Linked DNA regions of Homo sapiens: region 2 is linked to region 1. Evidence: promoter capture Hi-C in human tissues and cell types (Jung and others, 2019). All regions are on one chromosome and are shown on one strand. The core of a region is centred on a gene start or on the middle of the fragment in contact, and the rest is flanking DNA. Distances in the headings are between cores, read along the strand shown. Region 1 holds the start of NEK2 (NIMA related kinase 2). Region 2 overlaps LINC02608 (long intergenic non-protein coding RNA 2608).

Evidence for each region. Contacts are between HindIII fragments. The study calls those that stand out against the background at their distance.
Region 2: a fragment that was not itself captured here is called in contact with the fragment with the promoter of NEK2 in region 1 in 1 of the 25 tissues and cell types used here (stomach).

The regions. Positions count from the first base shown.
Region 1 is chr1:211,674,317-211,677,016 of GRCh38, forward strand. It overlaps NEK2 (NIMA related kinase 2), which reads right to left and starts at 1,305. Exons shown (of 8, transcript NM_002497.4): 1 at 1,068-1,305; 2 at 1-197. The coding sequence starts at 1,163. It overlaps NEK2-DT (NEK2 divergent transcript), which reads left to right and starts at 1,446. Exons shown (of 4, transcript NR_148994.1): 1 at 1,446-1,550. RefSeq lists enhancers at 1,009-1,268, 1,291-1,585. The HindIII fragment of the contact is 6,262 bases long and covers 1-2,700 here.
Region 2 is chr1:212,249,480-212,252,179 of GRCh38, forward strand. All of the region lies in intron 1 of LINC02608 (long intergenic non-protein coding RNA 2608), which reads right to left. Among named protein-coding and RNA genes, the nearest start is that of LINC02608, 34 kb to the right of the region's middle. The HindIII fragment of the contact is 4,692 bases long and covers 1-2,700 here.

The DNA of each region.
Region 1 (2,700 bases), core at 55-2,554:
ATTACACTAGCCAGATCCCCTCCTTCACAATATTCCATTACAATGTACAGTGTTGTATTGGTCCGGTCAATAATCCGATCATAGTAACGAACGATGTTTGGATGTTTCAGTTCACGAAGCAAATTCACTTCAGAAACAAGCATCTGTTTCTCAGCTTCTGTCATGGAGCCATAGTCAAGTTCTTTCCAAACTAATATCTGAAATAAGAATTTCCAAGGTATGAATGAACTCATTATGCTCAAAAACAAAGAATGAAAGTTCCAAGATTTAACAAATTACCTCCCTTTTAATTATATCCTACAATCAAGGTCATTATCTAATTTAGTTCAATGAACTTAAGGAGCTGTGAGTTTACTTCCATAATCTTCCTCCAGTTCTAAGCAGTAAATGTATGTTGTGGGGAGACAAACGGGAATGAGGCACATGAGGACTCCCCCAACCCCTACCCTCAGTTGGTTAGTGGGAAGTTGGCTAAAAGGTACTATAGTCAAAATTGGGGTGAAGGTGGTCAAAGTCCCTGCCCCATTCCACCCCAGTCGTGTTTTCCCAGGATGAGACACCTTGGTAAAGATCCCTCCATCAGCAGCCAGGCAGTTTCCTGTCCAATGTTACTTTCTGTAAAAGTTCTACCTATATACATTGGGAAATATGAATCCAATAATCCTAATAATGGATATTTTGAGGGAGTCTGACTGCAGATACAAAGCTTCGGGTTCTGGTAGTCCTGCCCCTTTCTTGTGCCTGAGAGGGCCACTCTTAGAGCTCTAAAAACAGCTCAGGAATTAGTTACCTGTCACCAATGGAAGGTCCTTAGCAAGCCAAAGCAGGAGAAAGAGAGAAATGGGGAGAGAAACGGGAAAAGATGGAAATACATATATCAAAAGAAGCGGTCTCCCATCCTTTAAGCCACCCAGGACAGGCTGTCAGATGCAGACCCAGGAAAGACGGTTTAGTCTTCCGGGCACCCATTTCCTCAGCCCTGTCGGTTCCCTTCGGTGGCGCAGGGCGCTCGCCCCGAGGCGACGAAACCTAAGCAGGGGCAGGCGCAGGGTAGGTCCCACGCTCACCTTGCCATCACTCTTCCTCCGGATCTTCTGGCAGCGGCCGTAGGAGCCTGTGCCAATGGTGTACAACACTTCATAGTCCTCAGCCCGGGAAGGCATGGCCGGCCAGTCGCCAGAGTCGCGCTGCCTCACGCAGGTTGCGCCGCCAAGTGCGGAGCTCCAGGGACCAGGAACTCCAGGGACCTGGATGGAGAAGCCCCCGAGCAGCACTGACCCGCCACCCCTGCCTTGGGCCCCGTTTAACCGTCGCGGGCCCTGATCTCGCAGTCTATTGGCAGGCGGTGGGCCGCTTCGCCTCTCTCATTGGCTAAGAAGAACACAACAATACCCTAGGCATTTTGGGAAAAGTGTCACTAGGCAACCGCGTCGGCGTCTGCTTTTAACCTGTGGGAGAACCCGGCGAGCTAAGCCAAACGGAGGGCGGGAGAGAGGAAGCGGCAGCTGGCGCCTCTCGGCAACTCTAACCCTCTGATAGAGATCGCCAAGGTAACCGAGATCTAAGGTCCTCCCCTCAGGCTTCTTTGCACACCGCTTCCACCAGATGCCTTCTGACCTTTGCACTCTGGCCCCTCACACTACCTACTCTCCCCGGCACACGCATTCCTCGCTCAGGTTCCAGTACCCTGAACCTGGGTGGGGTCACGTTGAGGATATGCTGAGAGCTGAATACAAATTAGAAATACAGACTCCCGGGTGGGCGCGGTGACTCACGCTCGCCCGTAACCCTAGCACTTTGGGAAGCCGAGGTGGGTGGGTCGCTTGAGCCCAGGAGTTCAGACCAGCCTGGGCAACAGGGCAAACCTCGTCTCTACTGAAAATACGAAAATTAGGCCGGGCGCTGTGGCTCACGCCTATAATCCTAGCACTTTGGGAGGCCGAGGCGGGCGGATTGCTCGAGGCCAAGAGTTCAAGACCAGCCTGGCCAACATGGCGAAACCCCGTCTCTACTAAAAATGAAAAAAAAAAAAAAAAAAGTAACAGAGCATGGGGTTGCAGGCCTGTAATCCCAGCTTCTTGGGAGGCTGAGGCATGAGGAATTGCTTGAACCTGGGAGGCAGAGGTTACAGTGAGCCGTGCGCCACTGCACTCCAGCCTGGGCGACAGAGTGACACCCAGTCTCCAAAAAAAAAAAAAAAAGGAGAAATACTGTCGCTCTCCTACCAAGTACTTTACACGTCTTGTCCCGTTTATGTGTGCCAAATACACAATTAACCCTATCGACAATACTTCATTGAACACAGATTCTCTTTTACGCACCCACACACCAACGTTCTCAGCTTACCCAGCCAAATGAACAGCCCCATGTTTACCAGGGAAGGAGGACTTAGAGGCCTCCATCCAGGGCTTGTTAGAGGAATATGTAAATTACCAGAAAGCTAATAATTTGGAAATGCATGAACAGGCCAGTTTTCTTTAAATATCTGTTCAGCAAAGGATTAAAAGACACCTGATTTTCTATTAATAAGAATTTAAAAGCTCTTTATGTAAAAATAAGGGACTTATTACATGCCCTGAATATAACATAAGATAATTGGAATTGCCAACCAGGAGAATTTTTAAATTAACATTCAAGGGCACTGTCTTACCTCAGGGGAATAGGACCAATTTAGGTTTCAAAAGTTATGTAAGGCACTGC
Region 2 (2,700 bases), core at 90-2,589, 580 kb after region 1:
GTATTGACTGCCTATGACAATCACCTAAAGAAGTTTTAAAAAAATACTCAGGTGCAGGCCAAACCCTCAGAGATTTTGATTCAGTTAGTCTGGGTTGAGGCTGGGAAAATGGTAGTCTTTAAAAGCTCCCCAGGTGATTCTAGAGTGCCACCAACGTTGGGACCACATCACTACATGGCAGTGTTTAAGAACACAGGCTCTTGTCTCCACAACTTACCAGAAAGCAGGAGATCTTGGGCAAGCTTAGTTGTTGTTGTCATTGTTGTTTTCAGACAAAGTCTTGCTCTTGTCCAGGCTGGAGTGCAATAGCGTGATCTCGGCTCACTGCAACCTCCGCATCCCGGGTTCAAGCGATTCTCCTGCCTCGGCCTCCTGAGTAGCTGGGATTACAGGTGTGCACCACCACGCCCAGCTAATTTTTATATTTTTTAAGTAGAGATGGGGTTTCATCATGTTGGCCAGGCTGGTCTCGAACTCCTGACCTCAGGTGATCCACCCACCTTGGCCTCCCAAAGGGCTGGGATTACAGGCACGAGCTACTGCGCCCAGCCAGTTACTTAGTATTTTTAAGCCTTTGGTTTTCTCACCTATAAAATGGGGATGATAATAGTTACCCCATTGATTAGTAATTATGATATAATATTTATTATAAAACAGTCAAACAAAAAGGAAAAATATAAGGTATATGTATGGTTTGAATAACCCCTTGAAAACAAATTTGATTGCTGTTGGCAAAAATATCTGTTTAATTGCAATTAAACAGTTTAAGAGGTAAAACCTTTATTTTTTATTTATTTGAGATGGGGGACTCACTCCGTTGACCAGGCTGGAGTGCAATGGTGTAGTCATGGCTCATTGCAGCCTTGACCTCCCAGGTTCAAGCAATCCTCCCATCTCAGCCTCCCAACTGAGACTGGGACCACAGATGCACATCACCATACCTGGCTAATTTTCACATTTCTTTTTTGCAGAGACAGGGTCTTGCTACGTTGCTCAGGATGGTCTCATAGAGATAGGTGATTAAGAGGTGATTAAAAGGTGATTAAGTTATGGCTCCACCTTCATAAATAGATTAATGCTGTTACCATGGGAGTGGTCTATTTGTCACAGGAATAGGCTCCTGATAAAAGGATAAATTCAGGCCCCATCTTTCTCTTTGTCTCACAGACTCTCTTGCCCTTCTGCCGTGGGATAATGCAACACAAGGCCCTCGCTGGATGCTGGTGCCATGCTCTTGCTCTTCCCAGCCTCCAGAACCATGAACCAAATAAATTTCTTTTCTTTATTAACTACCCAGCCTGTGGTATCCTTTTATAGCAGCAGAAAACAGATGTAGTTAGTATAGTATATAAGGATTTGAGCACTGTTTCTGACACAGAGTAAGCATTCAATACATAGCAGCTATCATTAATACACTGCAGTGACTCAGGAAAGAGATGATAAGGATTGGAACTAAGTCAGAGGCAGGGGAGATTGCAAGAAGATTATGCATTATCCAGATATTTCAAGAGAGTAGGTGAGGAAAAGAGAATAATTGAAGAGAACTCCATGATTTCAAGCTTGAACAACTCGAGAGATGTTGATGCCATCACTGAGTTTGGAGAAACAGGGATAGGATATAAAGCAAGGGGATAAGAAGTAAGTATTGGGATGGAGAAAATAAGTTGGATTAGATGTACTGAGTTGGAGGTACCTGTGGGTCATCGGGTGGAGACATCCAGCAGGAAGTTGGCATGATGGTCTGAGCTCAAGAAAGAGGTCTGGGCTGGAGGTATTTTTTTGGGGAGCCATGAACATATGAGTGGAAAGTTGAAGCTATAAAAGTAGATAATGGGCTGGGCGTAGTGGCTCATGCCTGTAATCCCAGCACTTTGGGAGGCTGAGGGGATCACCTGAGGTTGGGAGTTCAAGACCAGCCTGACCAACATGGAGAAACCCCGTCTCCACTAAAAATACAAAATTAGCTGAGCATGGTGGTGCATGCCTGTAATCCAAGCTACTCGGGAGGCTGAGGCAGAAGAATCGCTTGAACCTGGGAGGCAGAGGTTGTGGTGAGCCAAGATTGTACCATTGCGCTCCAGCCTGGGCAACAGAAGTGAAACTCTGTCTCAAAAGAAACCAAAAAAGTAGATGTTTATCAAAGAGAGTCTATTAGTGAGAATAGATGAAGGTTGAGTTTAGAACATGGGAAATGTCCAAATATATGGGGTGGATGGAAGGAAAAGGAATCTGCCCCCAGGAATAAGGTAGGGGATAGAAAGAATAGCAGGAATTATAAGGAAAACTAAGAAACAACTATTATCCACAGGAAAGGAAATAAGCCTGGGATAGAAAAAAAGTCTAGTTGGGAGCATTGAGCAAAATAACAAAATTTTTTTACTTAGTCACTTTGATTCAATTTAATAGGATGCTCTTAAAAGACTTTAAAGTTTTTTTCATTTTGCCCACTGCTTCCAAAGGCCATCTTTTCATTCCATATCTAGATGGCAGATACTGGAGCAGAAGCAGTGGCAAAAAGCCTCAGTCACATCTTGCCCTGCGGTAGTCCTGTGCAGGGATGGCATGAATAACTGTAGGAGGCAAAGGAGCAAGCATACCCTTTATACCCTGAGACCCTTGCTCAAAGCTGTCAGTATCTAGCCTGGGAAAGGCTTTTGCTGCCCATCATGCCTCTCAGGCTTTTTGGTACTCAAAGAACCT